6 separate regions of the Homo sapiens genome follow, and regions 2, 3, 4, 5 and 6 are each linked to region 1. The links are contacts of gene promoters, found by promoter capture Hi-C in human tissues and cell types (Jung and others, 2019). All regions are on one chromosome and are shown on one strand. Each heading gives the region's core, a stretch centred on a gene start or on the middle of the fragment in contact. The rest is flanking DNA. Distances are from core to core; before and after follow the strand shown.

What was found. Contacts are between HindIII fragments. The study calls those that stand out against the background at their distance.
Region 2: a contact is called between a fragment that was not itself captured here and the fragment with the promoter of FICD in region 1, in 2 of the 25 tissues and cell types used here (H1 embryonic stem cells and aorta).
Region 3: a fragment that was not itself captured here is called in contact with the fragment with the promoter of FICD in region 1 in 3 of the 25 tissues and cell types used here (H1 embryonic stem cells, dorsolateral prefrontal cortex and lymphoblastoid cells).
Region 4: a contact is called between a fragment that was not itself captured here and the fragment with the promoter of FICD in region 1, in 1 of the 25 tissues and cell types used here (H1 embryonic stem cells).
Region 5: a fragment that was not itself captured here is called in contact with the fragment with the promoter of FICD in region 1 in 1 of the 25 tissues and cell types used here (dorsolateral prefrontal cortex).
Region 6: a fragment that was not itself captured here is called in contact with the fragment with the promoter of FICD in region 1 in 2 of the 25 tissues and cell types used here (mesendoderm cells and thymus).

What each region holds. Positions count from the first base shown.
Region 1 is chr12:108,513,943-108,516,755 of GRCh38, forward strand. FICD (FIC domain protein adenylyltransferase) reads left to right here and starts at 1,335. Exons shown (of 3, transcript NM_007076.3): 1 at 1,335-1,419. RefSeq lists enhancers at 807-866, 2,769-2,813. The HindIII fragment of the contact is 17,239 bases long and covers 1-2,813 here.
Region 2 is chr12:108,026,011-108,028,823 of GRCh38, forward strand. No RefSeq gene overlaps it. Among named protein-coding and RNA genes, the nearest start is that of WSCD2, 100 kb to the right of the region's middle. The HindIII fragment of the contact is 5,655 bases long and covers 1-2,813 here.
Region 3 is chr12:108,140,165-108,142,977 of GRCh38, forward strand. All of the region lies in intron 1 of WSCD2 (WSC domain containing 2), which reads left to right. Among named protein-coding and RNA genes, the nearest start is that of WSCD2, 12 kb to the left of the region's middle. The HindIII fragment of the contact is 3,933 bases long and covers 1-2,813 here.
Region 4 is chr12:108,162,206-108,165,018 of GRCh38, forward strand. The region is part of intron 1 of WSCD2 (WSC domain containing 2); the gene reads left to right. Among named protein-coding and RNA genes, the nearest start is that of WSCD2, 34 kb to the left of the region's middle. The HindIII fragment of the contact is 8,834 bases long and covers 1-2,813 here.
Region 5 is chr12:108,183,643-108,186,455 of GRCh38, forward strand. All of the region lies in intron 1 of WSCD2 (WSC domain containing 2), which reads left to right. It overlaps LOC105369965 (a long non-coding RNA gene), which reads right to left. Exons shown (of 3, transcript XR_001749312.2): 2 at 1,129-1,272; 3 at 927-1,016. Among named protein-coding and RNA genes, the nearest start is that of WSCD2, 56 kb to the left of the region's middle. The HindIII fragment of the contact is 8,455 bases long and covers 1-2,813 here.
Region 6 is chr12:108,199,784-108,202,596 of GRCh38, forward strand. All of the region lies in intron 2 of WSCD2 (WSC domain containing 2), which reads left to right. The region is part of intron 2 of LOC124903077 (a long non-coding RNA gene); the gene reads right to left. Among named protein-coding and RNA genes, the nearest start is that of WSCD2, 72 kb to the left of the region's middle. The HindIII fragment of the contact is 3,550 bases long and covers 1-2,813 here.

The DNA.
Region 1 (2,813 bases), core at 85-2,584:
TCCCTAGATGTTTAATTTCAGTATTTGTGGATTAAGATGGAGGTTTCCATTCTCTGCTTCAAGGAAAAAATTTCTCTCTGGGAAGCCAAAAGAACTAGCCAGGTCCTTCTGGAGAGGATACAAATTAAAAAGTCAGGGAGAACCGAGGGGGTGGCTTGCGCCTGTAATCTTAGCGCTTTGGGAAGCCGAGATGGAGGGAGAGCTTAAGGTCAAGAGTTCGAGACCAGCCCGGGCGACATAGTGAGACCCGGTCTCTAAAGAAAATAAAAAATCAGAAATAGGTCGGGCGCGATGGCTCACGCCTGTAATCCCAGCACTTTGGGAGGCCGAGGCAGGCGAATCTTCTGAGGTCAGGAGTTCGAGACCAGCCTGGCCAACGTGGTGAAACCCCATCTCTACTAAAAATACACAAATTAGGCGGGCGTGGTGATGCGCGCCTGTAATCCCAGCTACTCGGGAGGCTGAGGCAGGAGAATCGCTTCAACCTGGGAGGCGGAGGTTGCAGTGGGCCAAGATCGTGCCACTTCCCTCCAGCCTGGGCAACAGAGTGCGATTCCGTCTCAAAAAAAAAGAAAGAAAGCAAGACAGAGAGAGAGAAAAAAAAAGAAAGAAAGAAAGAAAAGAAAAGAAAAGAAAATTCGCCGGGCATGGTGGCATGCACCTGTAGTCCCAGCTACTCGGGAGGCTGAGATGGGAGGATTGCTTGAGCCCAGGAGGTGGAGGCTGCAGTGAGCTGCAATTGCTCCACCGCACTCCAGCCTGGGCGACACAACGAGACCCTGTATTTTATAAGAAAAAAAAAAGTTGTTTAAGTCAGGGAGGAAAAGACACAGAGAGGAAAAGAGTAAAGAAGAAGAAGGCGGCAAACTCAGCAGCATGGGGTGGAGGCTAAGAACAGGGGCTGCGCAGTCAAGCAGGCTAACCGGGTGAAGGGGTGAAAAGCATCAGCATCTTCATTTCACAACCGGGAAAAATGAGGCACACGACAGCGGCTCCGGGACGAAGAGACCCGAGGAAAAGACCGCCGTGGAACTTCCAGTTTCCGGGCCCGCCACCTAGTGTGCCCCAAATCCGCACGCCCATCGGGTTTCCAGCACCTGCTCCTCCTGCCTGTGGCCTAGGCCCCGCCCCTCCCGCTGCTTATTGGCTGCTACGTGAACGAGACAAACGCAAGCAACAACCAATGGGAGTGGCCCACGGCGCGTCTTTCCCGGGGAAGCCGACGCGGACGCGGGAACCCGGAAATGCGAGGGAAGGACAAGTGGGGAAAGCCAATCCGCCGCGACGAGGGCTGCGGGCGGTTCAATGGCAAGTCGCCGGGGGCGGGGCCAGAGGCCGGCGGAGAAGGAGGACCCGGGAGCCGGCGGCCCGGAGCTGGGAGCGCGGGGAAGGCGGTTGGGGTTCTGACAGCTGCGCGCGGTGAGAAGGGGAAAAGCCCTAGGGGCTCGAGAGGATGAAGCCGGGAAGGGTGCGACGGGGCCGCGAGCCCTGGGCGGGGTTCGGGAAGGGAGGCTCTGCAGTCTTGGAGGGGACTCAGACCGGTCCCCTCCCCTCTCCGGGCCTCAGTTCTCCCTTTCTAGGGAAGTGTGGGGGAGAGATTCGCGCCTCCCAGAACGCACTCCTTCCCTGCACACACCCCTGGCACCGGCGAACTGCCCCCTTTCCTGTACCGCCCCGCCCAGGAGCCTGTCCCCTCGGGAAGCCCGCCCAGACCCCTGGACCCGCGCAGCACTCCAGGCGCACCCCTATTAAAGCGCACCCCAAGCCATTTCACATGTTCTGTGGCAATGGGCCAGGATCCCCATGAGACTCAGAACCCCGTGATCCATCAGTCATTCCCGGGTCAGGACCAGCCCAGAGCAGGTGCACAGGCCCTGCTTAGTAATAAGGTAGAAATCGAGACCTGGGGACCGGGTTCAGAGGCCCTGGGGTTTCCTTCCGGATGCCTCTGTTTACCTCCTGTGGGCCTTCTGGAATTTAACTTATGCTCTCTGTGTCTTGGTTTCCCTTGTCTGTAAAATGGAGCTAGCGGTAGCTCTTCCTTCATAGGGTGGCATGAGGGTGAAACGAGGCAATGCGTGGCCAGTACACTGCTCAGCACCTAGGACACCATAGTTGCTTAATAAGTGCTTATTGTTAGCATAGTGTTTGCATGCCTGGCCCCACCTCCACTCCCACTGCCAGCCCCAAGCACATACAAGCCATGTTGTCACTGAGGCCAAGCACTGTGGCCCACAGCCTGAGTTCCTTTCGAGATGCTCGAACTGCTCATCTTCTTGATGGGGTCCCTTCTGGACAGGCCAGAAATGGAAGGCCAGAGAGGGGAAGGGCACTGTGGGAGCTGTGGCTGAATATCAGGGTGAGGGCAATAAATGAGGCCACCCAACAATTGTGCTTATCAAAGATTGGGCGTCAGAACTGCTGTGGCTGATCTGCCTGGGTGTCTGTCAGTCATTTATGTCCCAAATGTTTGACATATGTCCACAAATCCAGTGTTTGTGGTCAGAAGCCACAGGGATATATGGGAAGGGGGGACACTTTAGAGCCGTGGGGTTCCTGAGTTCAAGTCCTAAGGCTGTCACTTGCTCCCGGCGAGACTTTCGGCAAGGGACTTCACCTCTCTGAACCTCAGTTCCCTCACCTGGAGAAGGGTGAAAACATCAGCTCAAGTCGTTGAAGATTGCAGGAGGTGACCCATGTGAGGCATTTGGTGCTTAGCACACGGCCTGGATTATGGCAAGTGCTCATTAATTGTTGGACCACAGCAGTGTTTTCACATTCATACTGCCCAGGAGGTGGCACCAGTCCTTCTA
Region 2 (2,813 bases), core at 196-2,695, 490 kb before region 1:
ATCAATTTAACAAGGTATTGACATTCCTGGATGGAGGGAAGTGGCCAAAGACAGATTGACTGGGCAAGCTCTAGGAAAACGTGGAGTTTATATTTCAAGTGACTACTGGAAAGGGGCTTTTAGTGAGCTCACCCACACCTGTCTGGGGAAAGTCTTCAGTGTGGAGATTTGAGATGTGTTCCTGCTGGAAACTTCCCAGCCCTCTTCTCCTGGAGTGCAAACCCCTCTTCCCTGGGGTGAGCCCATTTTAAGCAGCTTGGCTTCCTCTTGCCAGCCACAAATGTGGGCATGAAGCCACGTGTAGTTAATCAGAATATCTCCTTCTTCAGGCTACAGTGATTGGGTCAATGGTGCAATCATGAACCAAGCCAGCAATCAGAGCTCTCTCTAGGATTTTTCTACAGAAGCTCTTAGAAAAGATGATTCTCCTACTGACGTGTCTTTTCAGGACCATGTGACTCCACGGTTGCCAATGGCTATGTTTTCCATTACATCATGCGAGCCAAACACAGAAGAAAGGTCAAGAGACAGAGTTCCTTGACACAGTCTAATTTGAACTCCTGGATCCAGCTATATCTGAATCCCAAACTTACTTTGAGATTTCCTATGTCATGAACCAGTATATTCTAATTTTTGTGGAAGCTAGTTTGTGTTGGGTCTCTATCATTTGCGACTCAAAAGCATTCTAATACAGGTCCAATATGCAAGGGGTTAAAGCATTTTGTGTGGTTTCTCTGACCCGTAATCTCAGTCTCCATCTACCTAGTGGCCAGAGTTCAATTCAGTTTAATTTAATTTTGTTCCATTAAATTCCATTTGATTCCATTGACTCTAGTCAATTAGATTCAGTTCAATTCAATTCATTTAATTTGTTTTGAGCACCTACTGTATACTAGGAATGCAGAGATGAAAAAGTGTCCACCTTTACTCTTCAGGAGTTTAAGTTGATTTATAAATAGTTGCTGACCAATGTGATAAATGTTCTTATGTGCCAAGTGCAGTAGGACCAGAGAGAAAAAATGAACTTACACAATTCTGATTTTTAAAAATTTATTTATTTATTTATTTATTTATTTATTTATTTATTACTGTAATAGGAGCCAGTGTGGTTTTATACTCAAGAGCAAGGGAATTGGGACTGGGTAGATTCACCTTCTACTGTTTTTAGCTGGGTGACTTTCAGTGAAGAGGCTTCACCTATCTGAGCCTTACTTTCCTCATTTGCATAATGGGGATGATAATAGAATCTATGCAGTCTTGTGAAAAGTCAGTGGAAGAATGAACAAGTCAAATGCCTGGCACATAGCAAGTACTCAATAAATGATCGTCACCTCCACTTGCTGCTCTGCCCATCGGGACTGGTGGTGGCAGAGAGCAGTGGGGGTTAGTGACAGAACTCTCTCTACACTGCCGTTGACACACAGCCGTAAGACCTTGCATACTTCTTAGCACATAAAAGGTGCCTAAAACAAATTTAATAAGCATGTGTTGAATGAAAAGTCATGAGTTGTGGGTGGAATGGAAGAATTGGGAGCAGACAGAGGTCCAAGCCCTCAGCAGGGGAATGAGTGTTAATGTTAGTGAATTTCTTCTTATGGGGGCGGTTAGGGGTGCAGTTTGCCTGGAACCATTTGCTGGAGGGATTGGCTTGGAGAGGCACAGTGGGCAAAGCCCTTGACCTAACATTCAGAAAATGTGAATCTACATCAACAAATGCAGGCAGGTGATGGAGATTCTAGGAGGGGTGTCTAAATCCACTGAGGAGGGTCACTCAGTCCTTCCTCAGAGCTCAGAAAGCCTCTGGTTACTCAGCCTCCTCCTTGGGAGAAGTGACAAGTAGCAGAGGTCAATAACTCAGCACAGCAGCCTCACTTTACAAAAGGGGAAACTGAGGCATGGAGGAACTCATCCATGGTCATCCATCAGGTTAATGACAGAGCCAGGCAGGGACCCATTTGTCCTGCTACTCAGCTGGGTGCGTTCCACCCCACCCTCACCCCAGAGATTTTCATGAGAGCTCATTTTATTCGCACTAGACCTAGAGGGATACGGAGGCAGAGGTGGGGTGGGGCAGTGGGACAGCTTGAGTGAGTCCTATACTCTCCGACAGGTCTTTCTTCTCCCCACCAGCATTTCCTTACTTTTTTAACAAGCTTTTCTTCATGTTTCTTGGCCGCACAAATGTCTTCTTTTGAGAAGAGTCTCTTCATATCCTTTGCCCACTTTTTCATGGGGTTGTTTGTTTTTTTCTTGTAAATTTCTTTAAGTTCTTGTAGATTCTGAATATTAGACCTTTGTCAAATGGGTAGATTGCAAATATTTACTCCCATTCTGTAGGTTGCCTGTTCACTCTGATGATCGCTTTTTTTGGTTTTTTTTTTTTTTTTTTTTTTTTTTTTTGCTGTGCAGAAGCTCTTTAGTTTGATTAGATGCCATTTGTCAATTTTGGCTTTTGTTGCCTTTGCTTTTGGTATTTTAGTCATTACGTCTTTGTCCATGCCTATGTCCTGAATGGTATTGCCTAGGTTTTCTTCTAGGGTTTTTATGATTTTGGGTTTTACATTTAAGTCTTTAATCCATCTTGAGTTAATTTTTGTATAAGGTGTAAGGAAGGGGTCTAGTTTCTGTTTTCTGCATATGGCTAGCCAGTTTTCCCAGCACCATTTATTAAATAGGGAATCCTTTCCTCATCGCTTGTTTTTGTCAGGTTTATCGGAGATCAGATGGTTGTAGATGTCCAGCACTTATTGTAACAAGTCTTGCCTTCTCCAATTCAGCTCCTATACCAAGGGACAAACATTCAAGTTTGTACA
Region 3 (2,813 bases), core at 81-2,580, 370 kb before region 1:
CTGCTTCTCAGCTGAGTGGCCTTGGGCTGTGAGTTAACCACTCTTCGCCTCCGTTTCCTCGTTTTAAAACTGAGATACAAAACTGGAAGGGCTGAGTGAAGATTCAATGACCTAAAATGGCGCCTAGCATATGGTACAGGTTACATAAGTGCCAGTTAGTAACATAATGATTGTGATTGGGTGGCTTTTATTTCAGGTCTTGTCAGAGGTGAGCTACATCATAGAGTGGTGAGGCACCTCCTTACTGTCTATGAGCAGAGTGAAGAGGCATGGGGATTCTCTGGTCATCAGGGCCTCTCCCCATAATCCATCCTGGCATAGCTTTTACGGCAACCTGCTGCTCTGTCTGTCCGCCTGATTTTGGGCACTGGCTGATCATGAGAGGTAAACCTGTGTGTCACTCAAAAAGAACCAGGTAGTAGTAGCTGGGGGCCCACACAGCTTGTTCCTCAAGTGCTGGGGATTGAGGTGTCAGTGTCTTCTCCCCTGGACCGCCCAGATCTTCTGCCCTCACCCCTCATGATCCCCCAGCCAGGGGCCTTTCCTGCCCCCTGACCCCCTGCCAGCCCCTGCTACAGTCCTGAAGCCTTGGGCTGCTGTGATCACTGTCCCTGTGAGTGTGAACTTCAGCAGAGCAAGGCTGCCAGCTCTGGAAGGGGTCCCAGGGAGCAGCCGGCCAGCCCTCCCACCCCCTGGGCATCGTGGCAGAGCTGGGACTAGAACGTGGGCCTTTCACATCCTGATCCATGACAGGTCCTGCGGCCCCTTCGCTCCCATGCTGCTTTTCAGCGTGAGCGGATGAGTTCCCTATGGCTACGGGAAACAATGTCCATAAAGGTAGTGGCTTGAGCAAGACAATCTTTACATTCTTTTCTTTTCTTTCTTTCTTTACTTGTTTCTTTATTTTTTAGAGATGGAGTCTGTATCACCCAGGCTGGAATGCAAGTGACACGATCATAGCTCACTGCAGCCTTGAATTCCTGGGCTCAGGTGATCCTTCCACCTTAGTCTCCCAAGTAGCTGAGACTTACAGGCAAGTGCCATCACACCCAGCTAGTTTTTAAAAACTTTTTGTTCTTTTTTGTTTGTTTGTTTTTGTGATTTTTAAAAAATTTTTGAAGAGATAGAGTCTCACTATATTGCCTAGGCTGGTCCCGAACTCCTGGACTCAAGCGATGCTCCTGCCTTGGCCTCCTGAGTAGCTGGGACTACAGATGGCCACCACCATCCCCGGTTCTAAACAATACAAATTTACTATCTGCCAGTTCTGGAGGTTTGAAGTCTAAAATGGGTCAGCAGGGCTGGGTTCCTTTTGGAGGTTCGAGGGGGAGAATCCACTCTCTTACCTTTTCCAGCATTGGAGGGCTGCCCATATTCCTTGGTTCATAGCCCCAAGCCACTCTGATGTCTGCTTCCGTCATCACATCTTTGTCTCTGGCTGCGACTCTCCATCAGGACCCTGGTAATGACATTGGGCCTATTTGAGTAATCCAGGATAATCTCTCCATCCCAAAATCCTCCACTTAGTCACATCTGCAAAGTTTCTTTTACTAGGTAAATGTCTCATAGTCACAGGTTCCTGCTTTTGGGGTCGGGGAGCTGGTATATGATGAAACTGGAATGTCCTCAGGGCCTTGTGAGCCCCTCCCAGCAGTGGGAAACCTTGTAAAGAGTTTAAGTAAAGTGGAGTTGAATGATTCCATTAAACCCTGGCCAGAGCAAGAAGAAGAAAGGCCTCCAAGCTGTCCCCGTCAACTTGAGATGGGAGCCTATTGAAATCCCTGCAAAGAGCAGAGAGAACAGGGTGATTTCAGCTTCATTATGCAAAACACACAGCCTTCCAGGGAGAGGTGAGCTTTGGAGAAAAGAGTCAACAAATTAGTTTCTTAATCTGCTTTAAGTTGCTAAAATGCCCCCGTCTCCCTTCCTTTGTCACCTGATGGGCCTGTGGGCTATTTTAACTTTTATTAGAACATTTTTATTTTTTTATTAAAGGAGCTTTTCCTTTTTGAAAAACTAATCCCAGCTGTGTTTTGATAAGGTAGAATTAAAAATGGCACTGGGTAAATGCCACAGAAAGCTTTGATTTTTCTTCTTATGGCATCTGAACTGATTTAAATAACAATTATGTATTTCATTTTTATGTAGCCTCCTCTACTCCCTCCCTGGCCTCCTCAAAACACCACAGGTACCTGCAGCTCTGAACACATGCTATTTCTAAAATCTCCAACCCTCAGCTCCTGGAGGCAGAGGGACAGCCCTATAAGAGACCAAGATTTCTAACCCAGCAGCTTCAGGTGTAAGGCAGATCTCGCTCAAGTACAAGTGCTCCAGTTCACAGTTGTGTGGCCTTGGATAATTTACTTCAATCTCCTTGGCCTCTGATTCCTCATATACATGAGTAAAATAGAAATAATGATAGTGTTTGCATTCATCTGGATTCTGTTGGTTGTAGGTGACAGAAAACCCAACTTAAACATCCTTACACTCTTTTATTCTCAGGCATAAAATGAAATTTATTGGCTTATAAAACTAGCAACCTAGCTTCAGGCTTGGCTGGATCCAGGAGCTTGACATCTTACAGGTCTCTCTTTCTGGTCACCTCTCTCTTTTCCTTCCTTTCTCCTTCCTTCTCTCTCTCTCTCTCTATTTTTTTATTTCTCTTTAGAGACAAGGTCTTGCTCTGTCACCCAGGCTGGAGTGCAGTGGTGCTGTCAAAGCTCACTGCCTCGACCTCCTAGGCTCAAGAGATACTCCTGCCTCAGCCTCCTTAGTAGCTGAGACTGTAGGTGGGTGCCACTGTGCCCGGCTAA
Region 4 (2,813 bases), core at 165-2,664, 350 kb before region 1:
GACAACGTTGGCCACGTTGTTCTCATTTCCTCCTTTGGGCTTCTTCAGCATCTTCCTTGCAGGCTCACATCTCTCCGGAAGCTCTTGGAATCCTGCCTGTTCATAGGGAGGAGTCACCAAGCCCCCTTCAGACTCACGGGTGGAATAATCAAACACATATGCCTTGGAAAATGGGCTGGGGGATCCCCAGCCCCCCAACCCATTTCACACTCAGATGCAAGCAACACCCTCAGTCCCCAGGGCTCCCAGAGCTTTCTCATTCCATTTGTATCAATGTGCCCCACACATGTATGAGCCAAGTTCTACTTCTGGGGGAAAGAAAAAAATCTATTTCTTTCTGCATCTTGGCATCTATTTTTCCCAAAGTGCCAAGGAAATTCCATCTCTGATAAATGACAGGCAGCCACCAGAAAAGCTTGGATGTTTATTCCCTCCTGGGGAGAGGAACAGGGCTCAGACCCTCTTCTGAGCATCCTGGAGAATGCATTTCCTCCATTTTCTGGAGGGGCTGGGAGTAAGGCCTTCTCTTTTCTCTCTCCAAATGACCTCTGCTCAGACCTGGAGGCCCTTCCAGAACAGTTTCTGATGGATTCTGGAGTCTGACAGACCTGGTTAGCAAAGTACCCTGGACTTGGTAAATGGCTGTTTCCATCAATATCATTCATTCATAAGATATCACTACATGCACAGGCTGTGTGTTGAGCCTGCATCTTGTGCCAGCCTCTGTGTTAACTGCCTTAAACATCACTTCACTTACTCCTCACAAAAACCTGGAGGAAGTGGAGTGATGCCTCATTGTATAGGCAGGAAAACTGGGGCTTCAAGAGAGGCTGAATCGTATTCCTATGGACATGAAGCTAATAAGTGGTAGGTCATCAGCTAAGTGATACCACTAATAAGTAGTATTTGAATCCAGATGGGTCTGATCTGATTCCAAGTCTGAGCTCGTAAAAAGTCTATACCATCCTCCTGGCTAGCATGGTGAAATCCCGTCTCTACTAAAAATACAAAAAATTAGCTGGGCGTGGTGGCGGGCACCTGTAGTCCCAGCTTCTTGGGAGGCTGAGGCTGGAGAATGGCATGAACCTGGGAGGCGGAGCTTGCAGTGAGCAGAGATTGCACCACTGCACTCCAGCCTGGGTGACAGAGCAAGACTTTGTCTCAAAAAAAATAAAAATTAAAATTAAAAAAGAAAGAAAAAGTCTATACCATTCTTCTTTCTAAGTGTGGTGGGTTGAATAATCATCCTCTGCCCCACCAAACCTGTCCACGTTCAAATCCCTGGAACCTGCAAATATGGTACCTTAAGCATGGTAAGAGGTACTTGGCAGACGTAAATGAGTTAAGAATCTTGAGATGGGATATTATCCTGGATTCTCCAAGTGGTCCCACTGTCATCGCAAGGATCTTCATAAGAGGGAGGCAGGGAAGATCCGAGTCAGTAGCAGGAGATGCGATGATAGAAGACGTTGGAGTGATGGAATGCAGGCAGGAAGGGGAGGGGCCAGGAGCCAAGGCATGCAGGCAGCTTCTAGAAGCTGAAAAAGCAAGGAAGCAGATTCTCCCTGAAGCCTCCAGCAGGAACCAGCCCTGCAGACATCTTGATTTTACACTTCTGATTTTCAGAACTGAATAGAATGAACTTATGTTTTTTTAAGCTAGTAAGTTTGTGGTCATATGTTACTGCAGCCACAGGAAACTAATATACTAAGCATGGATAAAAAAAATTAAGGAAAGATACTAAAAGAATAAGTGAATGCCTGGAAAGGTAGTGAATAAATGAGTGAAACATAGTGGCATCAGTGATGGCTTGCCTTTGACATCCCAGTGGGTCACTGTCTTCTCTACAGCCCAGGACCCATGACAGAGTGGTTGGCATTACCACTAGACCTGTAGCCCTTCACTTATTTATACTGTTGTTTAATCTTAAATCCTTTTTTTTTTTTTTTTTTTTTTTCAGAGAGGGGGATGTTTGAAAACGTCCTACAATGGTATACCTTACATACTGTAAAGTACAAAATCAATAAATTTTTACAAACTTATAGAGCCATGGAACCATTGCCAAGGTCAAGATACAGACCATTCTTATCACTCCAGAGAGGTTTCTTTGCATTTCTTCCTAATTGATACCCCTGTCACCAGAGATTAATTTGCCTGTCCTTGAACTTCATATGAATGGGATCTTGTACTGTCTTTTCTTTTGTGCCTGGCTTCCTTTGCTTGATGTTATTTTTATAAATCCGTGAGATTTATTCACGATGTCACATATATCAGCGGTTTCTTTCTTGTTCATTCAATTTTTAATCCTTTCTCCTTTTGAAGGACACATGGCTGATTTTCTGCAGTTTGGGACCCTAATGAACAGAGGTGCTAGGGACATTCTTGTACAAATCTTGTGGGAGATTTAAGCACTCATTTCTTGTAGGTGTATACCCAGGAGTGGAATTGCAGGGTCCTAGGTATGTGAATGTTTCGCTTCAGTGGACAACACCAGTCTCCAGCCTGAATCTAACTTGAGGAATGCCTTCCTTGCCCGCAACAGCTTTCTCTCCAACAGATCTACCCACATCTCCACATTGTGTGGGTCACAATGCTTAGGAGACAAGGAGGCCCAATAACTCCTCACATCCCAGTCCAGGAAAGCCTCATCTGACCTGATGGGTTTCAGAGATGTGATGTAGGAGAAGGTGGGGACAAAGGGGGTACCCAGTCTCCTTTTCATGTGGGCTCATTTGCTAACCAGCAAATGGACTTGCTGCCCGATGCACATAAAAGCCAATGACTATGGCACTGGTTTTTGAGAAAAGAAAGAC
Region 5 (2,813 bases), core at 219-2,718, 330 kb before region 1:
GCTCTGAGCATTCAGAGGAGAAAGGCTGTCTTGTACAGAAAGCCTCCAAATCACTCCACTTGCCCCACAGAGAGGAGGCCCCGAGGTCAGAGGTCAGAGGGTGGCACTTCCACAGAAAACAATGTCACATAGAGGTTAGGATTAAGGGTCTGGAGTCAGACAGGCCTGGGTTGAGTCTTGTTCTGCCACTCACCAGCTCTGCCCTTTGGCAAGTTGACTGACCTCTCCAGGCCTTGGTTGTCTCATCTGTAAAGTGAGATTAAACCCAACCTACCAAGCAGAGCCCCTGGGGAGAGGCAATGGCACAGGGTACATGGAAGGGCCTGGCACATAGTAATTGTGCAACAAAAGGTGTTTATCCATTTTTCTTCTTTCTCAGGAGGGTGCCAAGGCTGAAGGCTGGGATGCAGGAAAACTGGGTCTGGGTAGAGTCACCCTCCACCTCCCCTTTAGGCCTCAGTTACCCCATATGTCTGTGAGGAAGCTGACCTGGAGGTTATGAACAGTCCTCCCTCCTGCTTTGATGGCTGTGAGCCCACCTCTCAGTCCTGCTCAGAGCTGGCAGTAGGTGCTGGCAACCCCTCCAAGGGCACAAGGTTCTCCGGGACAGGGGAAGAGAATTTGAACCTGTAGAGGTGGGCTGGGGAGCACAGAGACCACCTCTCCACCACCACCCCCCAAACACACACACACTGCCTTGGACAGAAAGATTGGGCTTGGGTGATTTGGGGGTGGGGATGGCAGTTATTTTTCACTCCTGGTGGAAAGTTCCTCTTTGGGGAAGGGTTGCTAATAGGTGCTGTCACCGTTCCTAAATTAGAGTTCAATCCACCGTGGTCAGTGTGGAACCAGCAAATGGCAATTTGCTCGTGTTTGCGGCTGGGAGCAATGGGGGCTGCCAGGGAGCAGCGTGTGCTCTGGGAAGAAACCTGCAGGGCAGGAACCAGCTCAGCCCTGGCCTGGCTGTGTGACTCTGGACCACTCCTCCAGCCTCTCTGAGCCCCCGGGTTCCTCATCTGTAAAACATCAGACTTGAACTAGCTGGTGTCTAAGGGCCCTTTGAACTCTAGGATTCTATGGTATCATAATCATAATCTTGGTAATAGCTAAAAAGTATTGAGCACTTACTTGGGTCCAGGTCTATGCGAGACATTTTATATGGACAGAGGTTATTTCATTCAAGTTTCTCCAAGCCTCAGTTTCCCCTTATGTAAAGGAAGGCTGTTTCGCTAGGTGTTGGATCTCCAGGCTTTCTTGTAGCTCTGTCACTTGCTGTAAGGAAGAAGCTGAGTGACCTGAGAGTGGCCTTTGAGCTCTGAAGAGGGACAGGGTGAACTCCTTCAGTGGTCCTAAGCCCCTTCCCCCATAAACTCTGTATCAGTTTCCATTGCTGATGAAAATTAAGGGTCAGCAAATACTTTCTGTAAAAGGCTAGAAGGTAAATATTTTAGGCTTTGAGGGCCACATTTCCCTGAGCCCCAGCCAGAAAGAAATTCTAAATCCTCCCACAAGCCTTGCCAAGCACCTGGACCTTGGACCTTTCTAAGCTCCAGCAATCAACAAGCATTTTTCAGCTCAGCCTCTGAGAAGTGGTCACATCCCACTGGGACAGGAATGTCCTCAATGTATTATTTAGGAAATGGGCTCCGGTCACACTGCAGTTCAAGAACAGTCCTGAGCAGAAACTCTAGGCCCTTGTGGGATGGACCCCCACTGACCTTTTTCCACCTCCCAGTCTCTGCATGGTGTCTCCTGCTGCCTGGGACATTCTTGCCCCAGATCCTCCCATGACTGTCTCCTTGTCATTTTGCAGATCTCAGCTCAAATGCCTTCTGAGAGGGGCCTTTGGGAACCACCCTACCACACACAGCTTCCTCCTATTCTCCATGCTAGGACTTTCCAATTATTTCAGTGACCCCACAGTGAGAAATGTATTTGACATTGTGATGCGCACACACAACCGAGGCAAAGGTTCACAAGATAACATTTCTCCTTACTGTATGTGAGTCAATGATAGCTTACTCTACGCCATTCCCTTTCATCCTATCCTAGTCCATCCTATCTCCTCCTTCCTGCCTTCCTCCCTGTTCTCTGCCATTCCCTGTAGGTCTGCCTCTTGGGTAAACACTCTGCCCAGAACCAGCAGAACCGTCCATTATCTCCCCCAGCCTATTAAGGAACTCTATGCAAATGTGCACTAATTGACCCAAGACACAGCAGCTCCTGGAGGAGAAGGATGACTCCAGATGGCTTAATGATAGGGATTTAGAAGTCCCTTCAGAAGTCCCTCTTGGGGAAGAAAGTGATCTGCACTTGGAGAAGGGCTGCCAGCTGCCTCATGGGGTGGCCAGTGGACTGGGTGACCTGCACCTTGGGTCCCTTTCATCAAACCACTGTACAAGGGAGACTGTCAGCTCACCCCTTCATCTCTCTCCAATCCCCTGACCCTTCCTGCAACATGGCCCCTTCCCCAGAGCCCACAGTTTGGATATTTCGTTGACATGTACCTCAGTGGGTCTCTGCCTTTTCAAATAAATTATTGTCCCCCCTTTTTAAATAGACTTTTAAAAAGCCATTTTAGATTCATAGCAAAATTGAGCGGCAAGTACAGAAAGTTCCCATATAACCCCAGACCCTCCTCCAACAGCCTCCCCCTCCATCAACATCCCGCACCAGAGTGGTCCCTTTGTTACAGTTGATGAACCTACACTGACACATCATTATCACTCAAGTCTGCAGTGTCCATTAGGGCTCACTCTTGGTGTTGTACCTTCTGTAGGTTTGGACAAATGTATAATGACATGTGTCCACCA
Region 6 (2,813 bases), core at 184-2,683, 310 kb before region 1:
GATTACCCACCTGGGGGAGGGAGTAAACCAGTATGTGAACCCAGGTGTTGTGAGTCTTACACCTGAACCTTAAGCACTACATCACGTCACTTCTCAGTGTACAGAAAGTACATGCCAGCTATTATTATTATAATAAGCTTGCATACTACCTTAATACATGCCAGCTATTATTATTTATACTGTAATTTTGCAGGAGAAAATGGAGGAATAGAGGTAATGTGAATTTCCTAAAGTCACACAGCTAATCTGGGGCAGAGCCAGGAGCTGAACCCACTTTGACTTCAAAGGTTGTGCTGCTTCTATTTCCATGAGATTACAGAGAGGCTTGGGCTGGGTGTGAAGGTGGCCATGGGAAGATTTAGTCTGCATTTTTTTGGAAGGATAGCAGGAGCACCCACTTCCCATCTCCTCCAGCTGGAGATGCAATGGCTGCAGGTTACTGAGGTGCTCTGTGTCAGGGACTATTTGTCCATATTTTCCTTTCAGCTTCATATCAGGTAAAAATATTGAGTGCCATTTCACGGATGAAGAAACAGGCTCAGAGAGGTTCAATTATTTGCCCAACATCACACAGATGCCAAGAGGCAGAGCTGACTCCAGCCCGATTTGATCAGAGTCCAAAGCCCTTATTCTTAACCACTGGACTTATACTATTTCTTTCTTAAAATATAAGATCTCTAACTCCATTCATTCGTTCATTTATTCTTTCATTCATTCATTCATTCTGTATTTATCAAACACCTACTACATGCCCAGATCTTTGCTGGAAGGTGGAGATACAGGAATGATTCAAGCACAGGTTGTGAATATTCCTCAGAGGAAGAAGCTGTGCTTTTCCCCATTATAACACCTTTTCATTTTATTAAAAGTTCTTCTACAATAAGCCAAAATTATTTCTAATTTGAAAAAATAATGGACAATACTAAGAAAATTTAGAAAAGTTTTGGGGGACCCCAAAGGAGGGACCCCATTCAGTCATGGGGTATCACAACTGGCTTTCTGGGAAAGCATATAGGTGAGCTTAGTATGTAGGATCCTTATGCCTTGACCAAAGTGAGTGGTGCATCCCTTCTGCCCTGGGGAAGCCTAGATATGAGCAGGAAATTCCATCGCCGGTACAAGGAAACCCAGGCAGCACTGGGTGGTCTTCTGGAGGGACCACCTTCCAGTGTTTCAGAGAATCCCCAGAAGGAGAAAAAGTATTTCTTGTGTCTTCCTTCTGTGCCAGACCCTGTGATAGGCTCAATGCATCAAATTAATGTTACTTAGGTCACCCTTAACAATATCTTTGTATTAGCTTTCTCAGGCTGCTATAACAAAGTATCACACACTGGGTGGCTTGAACAACAGATATCTATTCTCTCACAGTTCTGGAGGCCAGAAATCTGAAGTCAGGGTGTTGGCAGGGCCATGCACTCTCAAAGGCTCAAAGGGAGACTCTGTTCCATGCCTTTCTCCTGGTTTCCAGTGTTCCCAGCCATCCTCAGCAATCCCTTGCTTGCAGCCACATTACTCCAATCTCTGCTTCCATTTTCACATGACCATCTCCTTTGCGTCTGTGTCTTCATATAGCCATCTTGTTATAAGGACACCAGTCATACTGGATTGGGACCCAGCCTACTCCAGTTTAGCCTCATAACAAAATTCCATCTGCCATGACCCTATTTCCAAATAAGGCCACATTCTAAGGAATTGGAAGTCAAGACTTCAACATGTCATTTTGTTGGGGTGTGGGTGGGGGGCGGGACAGGGCACACAATTCAGCCTGACAACCCTAGTTGAATTTTTGCTCCCACTTTTCAGGTGGAGAACTGCACCCCGAAGAGCTTGAGTAATATTTGAGGCTACTGCAGCATCATGTGTGGGATTTGAACCCAGATCTGGTTAGATCTGGTTGACTCCAGTACAGCATGAGGCCTCCTATTCGTGAATCTGTTCACAAACTATAAATCAGAGGCATACAAATTAGTTCATGTTTAGCTACCCTTTTAACAAATCACCTTCATTGAAGAGAGCAAAATTCCATGAAAAGATTAATTGTAGCAAAAGAAAAAAGTAAAGGAGGAAAAAAAACTGCCACCAGGAGGGTTCTTTTCAGATGCTGGTTTCTCTACTGGAGATAAATAGCCCAGCTGGGGTGACTTTGCCATTTCAGCAGTCTTCAGACCGCTGTGGAGATGAGCTGATAGATTGTGTGAACTTGGCCATTAATCCACCCTCAAGTGGCCTGTGATTTTGTCCCTGTTTTACATATCTGACCTCCTGTCTCCGAGAGATTCTGCTACCACAGCAGGATTTGAAGGTGGAGCCCTGAGGAACGGCTGAAGAGGATTTTAGCGGGCTGGCAGTAACCACGCTAATGAGCTCAGAAGGGTGAAACAACTCTGAGGACAGGGACCATGGTTGTATTGGTCGCAGCCTGCACCAAAGGTCCGTGGGAAAGGGGTCACCAGATCTTTCCCAAGACAGGAAGGAAACTGACTCAATATTGATATCCTGATCCATGGAGCTCAGTCCATTAATCAGGCCGTGATGCATAACATGCCTGTGTTTTCCAAAAGCATTAATAAAGGACCATGTATCTTCCTCTCCCTCCTGTTGACAGATAAGGAAACAGAGGGTCATTCGTTCATTCAACAAGTCTTTGAGCACCTGTTGTGTGGGACATCTCAGCCTGATGCCTGGTCTGGTGGGAGGGTGAGGAAGGGGACAGAGCACCATTTAAAAGCCCAGGCTTATAAAAAAAGAATAAGATCATGTTTCTTGCAGGAACATGGATGGATCTGAAGGCCATTATTCTTAGCAAACTAATG